Linked DNA regions of Homo sapiens: regions 1, 3, 4 and 5 are each linked to region 2. The links are contacts of gene promoters, found by promoter capture Hi-C in blood cells and fetal thymus (Javierre and others, 2016). All regions are on one chromosome and are shown on one strand. The core of a region is centred on a gene start or on the middle of the fragment in contact, and the rest is flanking DNA. Distances in the headings are between cores, read along the strand shown.

Evidence for each region. The method cuts DNA at HindIII sites, captures the fragments that hold promoters and counts their contacts. A CHiCAGO score of 5 or more calls a contact.
Region 1: a fragment that was not itself captured here is called in contact with the fragment with the promoter of SEPTIN7-DT in region 2 in 1 of 17 cell types (fetal thymus); the score reaches 5.1 in fetal thymus.
Region 3: a fragment that was not itself captured here is called in contact with the fragment with the promoter of SEPTIN7-DT in region 2 in 1 of 17 cell types (M1 macrophages); the score reaches 5.5 in M1 macrophages.
Region 4: a contact is called between a fragment that was not itself captured here and the fragment with the promoter of SEPTIN7-DT in region 2, in 9 of 17 cell types (fetal thymus, neutrophils, naive CD8 T cells and 6 more). The highest score is 11.0, in fetal thymus.
Region 5: a contact is called between a fragment that was not itself captured here and the fragment with the promoter of SEPTIN7-DT in region 2, in 1 of 17 cell types (erythroblasts). The highest score is 5.3, in erythroblasts.

What each region holds. Positions count from the first base shown.
Region 1 is chr7:36,401,477-36,404,176 of GRCh38, reverse strand. The region is part of intron 3 of ANLN (anillin, actin binding protein); the gene reads right to left. Among named protein-coding and RNA genes, the nearest start is that of ANLN, 13 kb to the right of the region's middle. The HindIII fragment of the contact is 5,463 bases long and covers 1-2,700 here.
Region 2 is chr7:35,799,310-35,802,009 of GRCh38, reverse strand. SEPTIN7-DT (SEPTIN7 divergent transcript) reads left to right here and starts at 1,385. Exons shown (of 5, transcript NR_120512.1): 1 at 1,385-1,520. SEPTIN7 (septin 7) reads right to left here and starts at 953. Exons shown (of 14, transcript NM_001788.6): 1 at 740-953. The coding sequence starts at 800. RefSeq lists silencers at 42-491, 522-761 and enhancers at 912-1,301, 916-1,539, 1,662-1,721. The HindIII fragment of the contact is 5,766 bases long and covers 1-2,700 here.
Region 3 is chr7:36,312,853-36,315,552 of GRCh38, reverse strand. No RefSeq gene overlaps it. Among named protein-coding and RNA genes, the nearest start is that of MATCAP2, 53 kb to the left of the region's middle. The HindIII fragment of the contact is 845 bases long and covers 940-1,784 here.
Region 4 is chr7:36,362,233-36,364,932 of GRCh38, reverse strand. All of the region lies in intron 1 of MATCAP2 (microtubule associated tyrosine carboxypeptidase 2), which reads left to right. Among named protein-coding and RNA genes, the nearest start is that of MATCAP2, 3.7 kb to the left of the region's middle. The HindIII fragment of the contact is 6,130 bases long and covers 1-2,700 here.
Region 5 is chr7:36,344,300-36,346,999 of GRCh38, reverse strand. All of the region lies in intron 2 of MATCAP2 (microtubule associated tyrosine carboxypeptidase 2), which reads left to right. Among named protein-coding and RNA genes, the nearest start is that of MATCAP2, 22 kb to the left of the region's middle. The HindIII fragment of the contact is 4,851 bases long and covers 1-2,700 here.

The DNA.
Region 1 (2,700 bases), core at 200-2,699, 600 kb before region 2:
GTGACATGGTGAAACCCTGTCTCTACTAAAATACAAAGATTAGCCGGGCACGGTGACGGGCGCCTGCAAACTCAGCTATTCGGGAGGCTGAGGCAGGGGAATAGCTTGAACCCAGGAGGCGGAGGTTGCAGTGAGCCGAGATCGTGCCACTGCACTCCAGCCTCGGTGACAGAGCAAGACTCCCTCTCATAAACAAACAAACAAACAAACATCCCGGCAAGGAGCGGTGGGCTCATGCCTGTAATCCCACCACTTTGGGAGGCCAAGGCGGGTGGATTGCTTGAGCTCAGGACTTCAAGACCAACCTGGGCAACACGGCAAAACCTACGAAAAATGCAACATCTACAAAAAATGCAAAACTTAGCTGGGCTTGGTGATGCGCCTATAGTCCCAGCTACTCGGGTCACTGAGGTGGGAGGATCGCTAGAGCCTGGGAGGTGGAGGAGGTTGCAGCGAGCTGAGAGCATTACCACTGCACTCCAGCCTGAGCAATGAGGCAAGGCCCTGTCTCAAAAAAAATAAACATCCCCTCATTGATATACATCCTCTTTAACTACCGCCCCTCTTTCCCTGCACAATATTCACGCACCACTTAACTCACTCAACTGACCTTCTGCCTATACCACTGCCCTGAAGTTGGTTTTGCCATTGTCACTAGATGCCAGTACACACTTTGCAGGCTTTGTATTTCTTGACATCTCTAAAATATATCACTCCCTTTCTATTTGTGACATCATTCTCTACTATCCTTCCTGGCTTATCCTTCACAGTCTTGCAACTACCAAATACCTCCATTTGGCTCTCCCACAGATATCCCAAATAACATATGTGAAGTTGAAATTGCCCCGAACATATTCCTCCTCATCTTAGGAAAAGACATCACTAACTACCCAGTCACTGAGGCCAGGAATCTGACCTCTTCCTCCCTTCTCCCTCCACCATCCAGTCGTTAGGTCTTAGAGTTTGTCTCCTGTATCTCTCAAATCCAGCTTCTCCTCTTCATTTCCACAGGCCTTCACTCTTTGCACCTAGATTATATTATATTATATTATATTTTTTGAGAAAGAGTTTCGCTCTTGTTGCCCAGGCTGGAATGTAATGGCGCGATCTCGGCTCACTGCAACCTCCGCCTCCCGGGTTCAAGACATTCTCCTGCCTCAGCCTCCCAAGTAGCTGGGATTACAGGCATGCACCACAGAGTATAGTTACAAGAGCTAGAGGTCTTATTAAGCCCATTCCTAAAATATGACAATAAAACTGTCATCTGCTGATAGGACAGTGTTTATTCTAGGGAAAATAACAGAAGTATATAAAGGGTATTGCAGGTAAAGTGGTGGTCAGGGAGGCTTTTCTGGAGGAGGGAGAGACTCCTTAAGCTGGACTCTGAAGGACAACTGGCTTCAGAGAATGGAGATAATCTAGTCAGAAAAACAAAAATGTATAGAAAGCAGAGGTAAGTAACATGAGCAGAGTGTGTGTATAAGTAGATCCTATTCTGGTGTTTAAAGCAAGCAGTAGAAAAGCAAGAGTTACATTTTTTTTCCATTCTGAATGTGTCAAAATAGAGAGATACGTTTGAAAAAGAGCAGGTCCAGATTGGAATTTAATCAGGAGGTGATGGGGAGGTCCTGGGAGAGTTTAAAGCAGAAGCAGGCAAGTGTTTTAGAAAAATCGCGCTGGTGTGAAAATTGAGGAGGGACTGGACAGGGCAGAGGTCTGAAGCAGGAAGACCAGTTAGAAGGCTAGTATTATAACCTAGGTGCAGGCAGGACACGGTGGCTCACACCTGTAATCCCAGTATTTTGGGAGGCCGAGGCGGGTGGATCACCTGAGGTCAGGAGTTTGAGACCAGCCTGGCCAACATGGTGAAATCTTGTCTCTACTAAAAATACAAAAAATTAGCTGGGTGTGGTGGCGTGTGCCTGTAATCCCTGCTACTCAGGAGGCTGAGGCAGGAGAATTGCTTGAACCTGGAAGGCAGAAGTTGCAGTGGGCCAAGATTGTGCCACTGCACTCCAGCCTGGGAAACACAGCAAGACTCCACCTCAAAAAAAAAAAAAAAAATAGCTTTATTGAAGAGGCAATGTTACAGCTCTGTTGATTCCCTGTGCAGAGCAGGGCTACTCCATAGGCAGAGAGTAGCAGTTCAGGGCAGTTTTACAATCATATTTATACCTACTCTTAATTGCATGCACATTAAGGGGCAGCTTATGTAGAAATATCTAGGGAAGGGATAGTAACTTTTGGGTCATTGCCATGGAAAGGGGTGGTAACTCCTGGGTGTTGCCATGGCAATGATGAATTGACATGGCACACTGGTGGGCATGTCACTGGAAAGCTGCTTCCCCCAGGCCCTGTTTTAGCTAGTCCTCAATTTTTTTTTAATTTATTTGTTTGTTGTTGTTGTTATTTCTCTATCTTGTCCAGTGTCCAAGTCCCGCATCTGGAGTCGAGTCCTACCTCTTACCTCACCACTGCTAAAATAAATAGGTATTAATTGACACCATAGACTATGCTATGTGCCAAAAAACATCAGGTGGCCTGCCGAGGTGGCTCACGTCTATAATCCCAGCACTTTGGGAGGCCGCGGCAGGCGGATCACCTGAGGTCAGGAGTTCAAGACCAGCTTGGACAACATGGTGAAACCTCATCTCTACTAAAAATACAAAAATTAGCTGGGTGTGATGGCATGTGCCTGTA
Region 2 (2,700 bases), core at 136-2,635:
ATTAAGCCCAAATTCCAAACCAAACTACCGATTCTCCCTCCGTTCTCAAGACTCGCCCGCCATCCACCGGCCTTCCGGGCTGCGCCTGGAGAGAGGCAACCCCGAGAGGCGGGAGGAGGAGCGGGGAGGCGACGCGGTGACTGGAGCTGCGGCTGCAGCCGCCGCCGCCGCCTCCACCACAGCCTCAGCCTGGTGCATCCTTCTTCCTCCCTCCCCGCCGCCGCCCGCCCGGGTTGGCCCACACAGCACCCTCGCCCGAGCGTTCACACTCGTCCCCACCCTCCTAGCCAGGCCCACTGCCCCACGAGGGGACTTCTGCCGACGGGGATGCGGCCGGGGACAGGAGGAAGCGGGGCCGCGGAAGCCGGCGGGCCCGGGAGGAGACTGAGGAAAGGCGAAGGGACGGAGAGAAGCAAGGGCAGGGCTGAGACCACCACGCTCAGGCTGCTCCGGCCGCGGAGGCCGCGGCTCTGCGCCGGGGGCCAGCCCGCCGCGGCACAGGAAATGCCGCCGCCTCGGCTCTCCTCACGTTCAATTCAAACTGTCACCGCCGCCGCCTCCCCTCCCCCCGAGCCCGCCGCTGCCGCGCCCCGGGCCCGCAGTGGCCCCCATCCCGGCTCCCCTCGCCGCTGCCTCCGCCTCGCCTCAGGGCGTTCCCTAGCTCGGTCCAGCGGCCGCAGAGCTTCCCGGCATTCGGAGCCGCTGACCCCAAGTCGCGGCACCCGAAGCTGAGACTCACCCATGGTGCTGCTGTTGACGCTCCTCTCCTCAGCAGCAGCGGATCTCGCACTGACCGACATCCCCTCCCCCCCTCCGCGACCAGCCCCAGCGGAGCGCAGCCCGCCGATTCTCCAAAGGCGCCTACGCCGATTCCGCAGCGTAGCCGCCCGGCGTAGCTGCCTTGCTTACGCACGCTACAGCAGGCGGACTCCTCCACAGGCTCTCGCTCGACTCCCGCTCCCTCCTCCGTCCCCCGCCCCCTCAGACGAGGCTTCCGGGCCTAGCGGAGGCTGGCTTCCATCTCGCGAGATTACCGCCTCCCCAGCTCCGCCGCCTCGCTCCATTTCGAGCATGACTTCATTGGCGTCAGCAACGTTTTGCTGTTCGGGTTTAGCCGCCATGTTTAAGTTGGCCGGGTTTCGCACCACTGAGGTCATGGATACTCAGGCCTCTTTGCGTGTTTCTTCAACACTGCTTCTAAGGTTAACCGCGTTACATTTGTTGGAGAAAATCCTGGGAACGCTGAAAAGGACTAGTGGGTGGGGTGCGAGGGTGGGGTCTTGCCCGAATTAAAGATGGCCGCAGTCAGCTCTGCCCCGCGCAATTTCACGTCAAGTTTTGGAGCTGCGGGAGCCGGCCAGTTGGCCTCAGCGCCTCCTTACGGAATTGGCGTAAGGCAAAGAGGCGCGGCTGGAAGAACCAGACTGAGAAAGTGCCACAGGGCGGGGGCCGCATCCGCCCCTCGGCTTCTGGTTACTGACCCGACGGCTTTGTGAGTGAAAGTGAAGAGACACTTCGAGGCAGGTGTCTGTGCTCCCCATTCATCCCTGTTTCCGTGGCTATCTTGACTTTCGGGGTGAAAAGTGAGGTTAGGCCCTGTTTCCCCGACCCTTCCCTCGCGCCATCACACTCTAGTGGCCTGGCACAGCCCCAGAGGTCGGCCGCTGTAGCCCCCATTGCGGACTCGCCACATTCATATTGGCTCACCTTGTCGGTGCCCGGTTCGGTCCTCTTGGAGCTCACACTCCAGTTGAGGAAATGAATGGACACAGGAACTACTGGGTAACAAAATACTAATAAAGGGCTGCGATTGTGTGAGTTTCTACTGTAGCGATGAATGTCGCTGTCATTGGAACGTTCCCCAAGTGCCTTCTAGTGAAAGCCTTACTTCACTCGGAATAACCTGTGGTCTTTTCTTGAACGTGATGGCTCTCTTGGTTGTATTCTTCATGCACATGTGTTACTTTTCCTGTTTAACTACATGTTAAAGAAATGTGTATGTTCCTGTTTAACTGCATGTTTTAAAAAAGTATGTGTATTTTTAAGTTATAGGCACGTGCAAGAAAGTTCAGAGCAAAATAGCTTATATTAGTGAAACAATAAATGTCTACTAATAGGAGAATGGATGAATAAGTGTCATTGTTGAACAAATTGACATACAACACGAACCAAAAAATCAGTGAACTAAAGCTACCATTTTTCATATGGATAGAGTCATTAACCTAATATTGAGGAAGAAATGAAAAGACAGGTTGCGGAAAGATATATATGACATACCATAAATAAAAGTTTAATAATTACAAAAAAGTAAGATCAAACTAAAAATTGTATAAGGAAATGATAGATACCAAATTCAGAATACTGGTTGCTTCCAGAGATGAACAGAAGGGAATGTAACAAGAAGGGTTCATTTGTATCTATAACGTTTGTTTTCTACCAGAAATATCTTGAAAATGTGGCAAAACATTAAGCTAAGTAGAGGGCACATGGGTGTTCACTTGTAATTATTTCCTTTACTGTTCTATATACTTGAAATATTTCCAAGTAATTTTTTTTAAGAAAAGAAACTTATAGAAGCAACTTATTTTGTATCTTGATATATGCCATTTCGTAAGTCTACATTTTTACTGAACTGCTTATGAAGTCTGTTGCAACTTATCTGTTCAATCATTGTTTTAAGTTTCTGAAACTTCAAATGAA
Region 3 (2,700 bases), core at 113-2,612, 510 kb before region 2:
GGGAAATGGCATCTTCCATCACTGACTACTGGCAATTGGCCAGACACCAAAACCAAAAGCTGCAGGGCAATCCTGCCTTATGTGGTTTGACCCTGAAGGTCAGGGTTGCCCCTACTCTCACTGGTGGCCTCTCTCATGCCCAGCAAACTCCTTCCAACAAGGGTCCCCTTGCCTATTTTCAGTGGTGGTTTAAACTCTGTGCCCCCCACTTCTGATGGGGCCCTGACATCTGAACTTGTCCCCCTGTATGGTGTTGGCTCCCACAAAGGGGCCTCCTCATGCTTGGCTGGGGACCGTCCACCCCTGGACACTGCTCAGCTCTGCACAGAAGCCAGGATTGAAAGACATCCTCCAGACTGTAGAAAATTGCCCCCATCCCCAGGGCATGTTCTGCATTTCTCAGTGCCATCCTGCTCACAGATTTGGGTGGTCTGGGAACTCCCCAAACCTTTCCATCCACATTGCACTCCTGTCTTCCCTAGAGACACTTGGCCACCACTGAAGATAATGATGGTGGTGACGATTTCATGCCAAATATATTTCATTTAATCTTTATGACAATATTAAAGGTAGTAGACATACCTCCATTTTTCAGGTAAAGAAACTGAGAGGCTCAGAGGGGTCGAGTGACTTTCCCAAAGTCACACCAATAGTAATTTCCGGAAAGGATCTGAACAGGAGTTTGGGCTCATAACACCCATTATAGCCATGCTCTTAGTGCTACCCAGGGCTTCCCTCACTCTCTTCCTGTCAATGCCCTGAAACTTGCTTCAACCTCCAGCTCCACCTGGCACCTTTCCAGGGACCCACTCCCAAAGGGTGGGTAAATGTCACCCTAGCTCTGATGCTCAGACGCAGAGATACTGCAGAGAGGATGGGGTAGTGGTGGTGGAAGAAAGCAAGGAAGGGAGAGGACACCCTTGAGGTGAGAGACAAGCTTCACTGGTAACCCCAGGGTTTCTCTGCTCTCTGCTCTCTCCCTCCCCACATCAGGATCTGCCCTGGGTGACAAGACCAAGGGAGGTGAGCTGGTGGAGACCGGCACCATCCCAGGTCTCCCTCAGCCTATTTGTTGCTGCTCTTGGCTACAGAGCCTTCTTTGGGGAGGCGGGCAGAGCCACATTCCACCTGACTTTGTGGGGCTGAGTAGTTCTCCTGCATTCCCTCTCTGAACTTCATTCATTCATTTGCTTCTCCAATGCCATGATGTGCCAGGTTCTGGGGATACAGACATGATCATCTATTAGTCTCCTAGGGGTGTCATAACAAATTACCATCAATTGAGAGGCTTACAACTAGAGAAATTTATTCACCCATGGTACTGGAGTCAGGGAGTCCAAAATCAAGGTATGAGCGAGGCCACTCCCTCTGAAGCCTGCAGGGAGGACCCTGCCTCTCCTCTTCCAGCCTCGGACGCTGCTCCGCAGTGTTCCTTGGCTTGCAGCTCCATCACTGTAATCTCTGCCTCCGTGGCCACTTGGCCCTCTCCCTGTTTGTTTCTGTTTTTTCTTCTTCTTATATGAATACTAAGTCATATAGGATGAAGGGCTCACTCTACTCCAGTAGGACCTTATCTTAATTGTGTCTGCAATGACCCTATTTGCAAATAAAGTCACAGTCTAAAGTACTAGGGGTTAGGATTTTAATATAAATTTTGAGGGGACACATTTCAGCCCATAAGAAAAGGTAACAGCCTCCCTGCTCTTAAAACATCATCATGATCAATCATCACCATCGTCATCATCATCATCATCATCATCGGGACTGTCATCTTCAGGTAAGCTTCCCTCTACTTCTCTACATGTGCAGTCTGGCTGGGAGGCAGGCCTGACAGCCGAGGCACTCCACGGTTTGATGTGTGTTCTCATAGAGGAATGTCCCACCCTTGACGGGAGCACAGCAGACCCATCATGGAAGGCTCTGGAAGGGCAGGTTTCCCCACCCGCTCCCAACTGCCTGGGCAGTTGACCTATAGGCACCCTAGTTCAACTTGTCCAAAACGGGGATTAGCATCTTCTCCCCAAACCTGGCTCTTTTCCTGAATTTTTCTTTTTTCTTTTTTTTTAAACCTAACAAAGATCAACTTCTTAGAAACCTGAAGCTGGTCAGGGTGGAGGCAGAACTCGAACCCATGTCCTTGTGACACTCAACAGTGTCCCAATAGCCCACCTCTGCACTTGCTTTCCAGCCCCTCAGGCCTTTCTCTGAGACTAGTGTGACCAACCTGGCCCCCACCAGCTCTGCTAACACCTTAGCCGAAGGACCGCACAATAATATGCCGGCAACGAGAGCCATCCCCCATCCCTGCCCCGATACCTGCGCCGCTCCCGGCACTGCGGATGCAGGCCCCCTCCTCTACCTGTTCCTACTCCCACACAAGCCTGCAATGCTCCCCAGCGCCGCAGAACCACCTCAACATCCTTAGCCTGCCTTGGAAGAGCTGGCCTGTGGCTCCCGTCAGTCTCCTCTCCATATCTCGTCCTAAGCTCTTGCCAGGAGCAGCCACATCACTGCTGTCCTCCCTCCACACCCCGGCCCTCCTGGTCCCCTCTTCCGGGGATGCCATCTGCTACTCACCCGGTCAGGTCCCCGCTCAAGGGGACCTCTCCCAGGAAGACTCCTCAGACTCGCCTCCAGCTGAGCAGGTTCTCCCTCCTTCCTCAGGTTCACACAACACTCTTTATCTCCGCTGCAAACGTT
Region 4 (2,700 bases), core at 170-2,669, 560 kb before region 2:
CAATAAAGTTCAAATAGCCATTTGAGACCATGCAAGCCTCTAATTTACAATTCCTTTAAAAATAACTGGGTCATTTTTCAGACTACTTTCTCTCTTAAATATACTTAACTGCTTGAAATAATTCTAGAGCCCTGTGCCCAGCATTTCACTGCGATATCAGAAAAACCCAGTTTGGACAGCCAGAAACTTCATGTAGAGAGTTAAGCTGAAAACATGCCCTCCTCTCCCCTGGTCATTCCCTCACGATTCATTGATATCTGAGATGGCCATGTTCTTCTTTCTGGTTAGCAGAACTTGATTGTGGTAAGAGTACTGATGGAAATGTGTTCATTTTTTTTTCAGCTCTAAAAGTCGTTACAAATATAGAACAGACTCATTTTATATTTCAGGAATGAAGCAATTACTTGTTTCTGAAATCCTTCCTATATAATATCTTACCCACTTTTGACTTATTAGTATATGCTATCTATGCTGTTTAAAAATGGAATCAAATCAGAAAAGGTTTTTTTGACTTCTCATGGCCTTTTAAAGAAGAAGGTTCTGAGGCTGGGTGCAGTGGCTCACACTTGTAATCCCAGCAGTTTGTGAGGCGGAGAGCAGGCGGATTACCTGAGCTCAGGAGTTCAAGACCAGCCTGGGCAACACGGCAAAACCTTATCTCTACAAAAAATTAAAAAATTAGCCGGGCATGATGGCCTGCGCCTGTAGTCCCAGCTACTTGGAAGGCTGAGGCAGGAGTATCACTTGAGCGCCCAGGCGGCAGAGGTTGCAGTGAGTCAGGATTGCCACTGCACTCCAGCCTTGGCCACAGAGTGAGACCCTGTCACAAAAAAAAAAAAAAGAAGAAGAAGATTCTACTTTAGCTTCCGGGATTTAAAAAAAAAAAAAGGGTTTATTATACCAAAGCCACTAAAATCTTGATTCTAAAATATAGATTAATTACCTTATTAACATGAAATTTGCCTTGGAATTCAAATTTAATGATTCAGAATATTTCCCTATGTACATTTTTCCATGCGGTGTTTCTATAGGAGCTGAATATAATATTTAATGTGATACTAATAATAGTTAACAAAGGCTGCTTACCTATAGTCCAGCACTGTTCTCAGCACTTCACACATATTCACTTTTAAAATCCTTACAATAATACTATGAAGTATGCATTATTATTATCCCATTTTACAGATAAGGAAACTGTAGCACAAAGAAGTTATGTAACTTGGTCAGGGTAATAGCTATTAATAAACAGAGCCAAGATTCATACCAGACAACTCCATTCCAAAGTCCATGTTGTCAACTGCTAGGAAAATCAGCTCACTATTATAGTGACTGTACACTGATTTGAGCCACAAAATCCAACATCAAGATTTCATGTAATATCAGTGTGACATTATCCGATGGTTTGCTCAACTGTTGGTTTTTAGATTTTTAATCACAGGCAAGTATGTAATAATTTTTACCTGGGAAAATCATATTTCACTTGAATAAAAATTTGTTGTTTTCAAAATAGAACGCATCTAGTTCATTCATTAACAAAATGCTGTGAGAAACCATATAAGATTATGTTCATTTATGATTGCCTATCGGCTTTATTTTGTATGTGATATAAGGAGAGATTAATGAGTCATTCCAGAAATGAAGTGTCTTTATATCAAAGATGAATGTTTAAAAATACTGGAAATGAAAGTCTTAAGGCCATCGTTAGGCCATACAGGTTGAATATACCTAGGCACATAGCTCCTGTTTGTCCTACAGCAGCAGGTACCTACCATGTTGTCTTCAACATCACTAATTGTTTCATTTTTCTTTTACCTTCCTGGGATAATTTTTTCCTCAACCGTCAGGCAACTAAGTCTTTTACCCTTTCTTTCCTCTCAAATATTCTCTTCCCTTGTCTACCTCTCTGGCCCCCCTTTCATAAGCAGGACAGTGAATAAGCAAAACCAAACACAGATGTATGTTGTAAAAGAGCTTATAATTTCATTGTTGACGAAGTCTGTCATACAACAAATATAAACCTGCAACCATGATAAAGTACTTCGAAGAAGAGATACAAGGTGTTATGAGGGTCTAAAATGAAAAAGTTAAGGAAGGCTTCCTGACCAAGTGCTATTTGAACTGAAAGATGAGTGGATATTAATCTAACAAAGAGAGGGATAGAAGGGCCCAGCAGACACAGGGAGCAGCATGTGAAGAAGTATGTTCGGAGAGAGCATAGTGAGTATGAGATATGGTCAAAGTGAGAGAAGGCTGGAGTGGAGAAATTGAGGAACACAGTGTGAGGTGAGGCTGCAGAGGCAGAAGGATCTGACCAAGAGTGACCTCATAGACCATGGTTAGGAGTTTTGTCCATCCCAAGGGAAAGCCATGGGAAAGTTTGTTTCTGGCACATTTAGTGTTATTTTAGATGATGTATAATGCTCACTCTTACCACAACCATCACCATCAAGGGTATCTAGACTACTCTGTATTTCTAACTGTAAAAACAACAAACACACAAGTTTCTGACCCCAAAACAACAGTGTCCCATTATAAGTTACTAATAGAGCAGCACTGAATTGCTCTTACCTGGGGCTGTGAAATTTTTAAGAATCCTAAAGTACAGTCAAGTTTCTGAATTCCTGAATGACATTAGCAGTGCCTTTCGTCTCATTTTCATACAGTCGATAAACTACATTGGTTGCTATTGAATTTAGAGAT
Region 5 (2,700 bases), core at 167-2,666, 540 kb before region 2:
ATCATGAGGTCAGGAGTTTGAGACCAGCCTGACCAACATGGTGAAACCCTGTCTCTACTAAAAATATAAAAATTAGCCTAGTGTGGTGGCGGGCACCTATAATCCTAGCTACTCAGGAGGCTGAGGCAGGAGAATCGCTTGAACCCGGGAGGCGGAGGTTGCAGTAAGCCAAGATCGTGCCACTGCACTCCAGCCCGGGCAACAGAGCGACACTCTGTCTCAAAAAAGTAAAATAAAATAAATAAAACTAGAGTACAGTTCAGTGGTTTTTAATGTATTTAGAGTTGTGCAACTATAACCACTAATTCTAGAACATTTCGTCACCTCAAAAAGAAACACTGTACCCATTAGCAATCGTTCCCCATCTCACCAACCTTCCAGCCCTAGGCAACCACCAGTCTATTTTCTGACTTTCTGGATTTGCCTGTTCTGGACTTTCGATATGAATGGAATCATACAATACCTTGTGGTCCTTTGTGACTGGCTTCTGTCACTTATTATAATGTTTTCAAAGTTTATCCATGCTGTGTTCTAGCATGCATCAGCATTTTTTATTGCTGAATAATATTCCATGTATGAATATACTACATTCTATTTTTTTTATAATTTGATAGACATTTGGGTTATTTCTACTTTTTGGCTGTTAATAATGCTGTATGAACATTTGTGTACACATTTTTTATGGACAAATGTTTTCAGTTATCTTGGGTCCACATCTAGTAGTGGACTTGTTAGTACATATAATTTCTCTATGTTTAACCTTTTAAGGAACTGCCAGACTGTTTTTCAAAGTGATTATACCATTTTAGTTTCCCATGAGCAGCATGTGAGCGTTCCAGTTTCTCCACGTTCTCATCAGCCCTTTTTTTTTCCTATAGACATCCCAGTGGGAGTGAAGTGGTATCTCATTGTGCTTTTGATTTGCAATTCCCTGATGGTTAATAATGGCCATTTTGTATATCCTCTTTGGAAAATTGCCTATTTCAGATCCTTTGCCAATTTTTCAGTTGAGTTATTTGTTCTTGAGTTGCAGGAGTTCTTTATATATTTTAGATATCAGATATGAAATTTGCAAACACTTTCTCCCATTCTTTGGGTCACTTTTTATTTTTATGATAGTATCCTTAGAAGCACAATTTTGATGAAGTCCATCTTATCTTTTTGTTGTTTGTGCTTTTGGTGTCATATCTAAGATCCCATTGCCTAATCCAGGGTCATGAAGATGTATGCCTATGCTTGCTTCTAAGAGTTTTATTGCTTTAGCTCTTAAGAGGTTAAGGTCTTGGATCCATTTTGAGTTAATTTTTATATATGATATGGGATAGAGGTCCAACTCCATTCTTTTAAATGTGGATATCCAATTGTCCCAGCCCCACTGTTTGAAAATAATTTGATTACATACTGTTCTAATTTTAATAGAGGAGAATAAAAGTGCTTCAGGATCCTGAGATGACAGATCTGTAATATGAATAATGGTGCTATTCTATTTTGTGTGGCATTGTAAGTGACATTCAGGTGAGGAGAGAACAATTACTCATTTTGCTTTTATTTCCTCTTTGCTCTAGATTCCAGGTCTCTGAAAATCAATTTGTTTTGATGCCTATAAGATATGCAAAGGTTTATTTAAAATATTCTCTTCTTCAACTGTATGCTTCTGGTGAAGAAAAATCTTTTAAAAATTTAAAAATATATTCTCATTCTATAAAGTGGGAAAGATTCAGAAATGATTGATTTGTGAATAGAGATAATAACAATTTAGTAAAAATATGGGTTTTTTTGTTCAATGTTTTTAAAAAGGCAAAAATGTATTTGGTTGCTTGTTTCACATCAGTTTTAGCAAGAAGTGTTATCCTACCTGACAGTGTGTCTTGTGGAACTCAAGAGTAGATTCCGTTATACTATTTTCTAACAAGGTAATGGAGGAGTTGGCCAAGTACATTTTAAGATGTACACAAAGGGAAGGTCCAAAGTCAGATTCATGCGGACTAGGAGGCTGAGACCTGGACAATAGGGATAGGTGTGTGTACATTAAGATGTTCTGGTTCTAGGAATTTTAAAACTGATTTATGAAAATTTGTAATGTTACATTGCTTTCTACTTATGTCGCTATTCTTAGAGTTGGAAGGAAGCAAAGAATATATTTGATATCTGTGGGCAAATCTGGGCTGGATTTTTAGGGAAGTGGCTCTCTGTTCCATGAGTTAACCTCAAGAATGCAAAATATACCAACTGTTTTCCTGCTAACAATCATCCCTACCTAAAAATCTATTATAGAAAAATATTAGTTGAATTTTTAAGATTTAAAAACAATTTCATGTATTTCTTTGTTAAATGCAAATACTCCAGAGAAGGGATATCAATGCCTACCTGGCAAATGGGAAAAGGTAATTAGATAGTGAATAGAAAGGCCAGGAGATTCCAAAGTAGAAGGCACTTAACCATTTGTTTTTCCAGTTAGAAAAGTAGTTTATATTCAGTATAAAAACTTAGAAAAGTGTGGAGAATAAGAATCCCATAATTCTACCACCCACAGGTAACCACTATTGACCTTTGAGAGTATTTTTCTTTTCCCATGCTTAATGATCATAATTGTGGTCAATGTACTTTCACTTACTTATCATAAACATTTTCTCATATCATTAAAAACCATCAACATTTTTTATGTCAGCATCAGTTTCAGTGCCTGCATATTTTTCATAT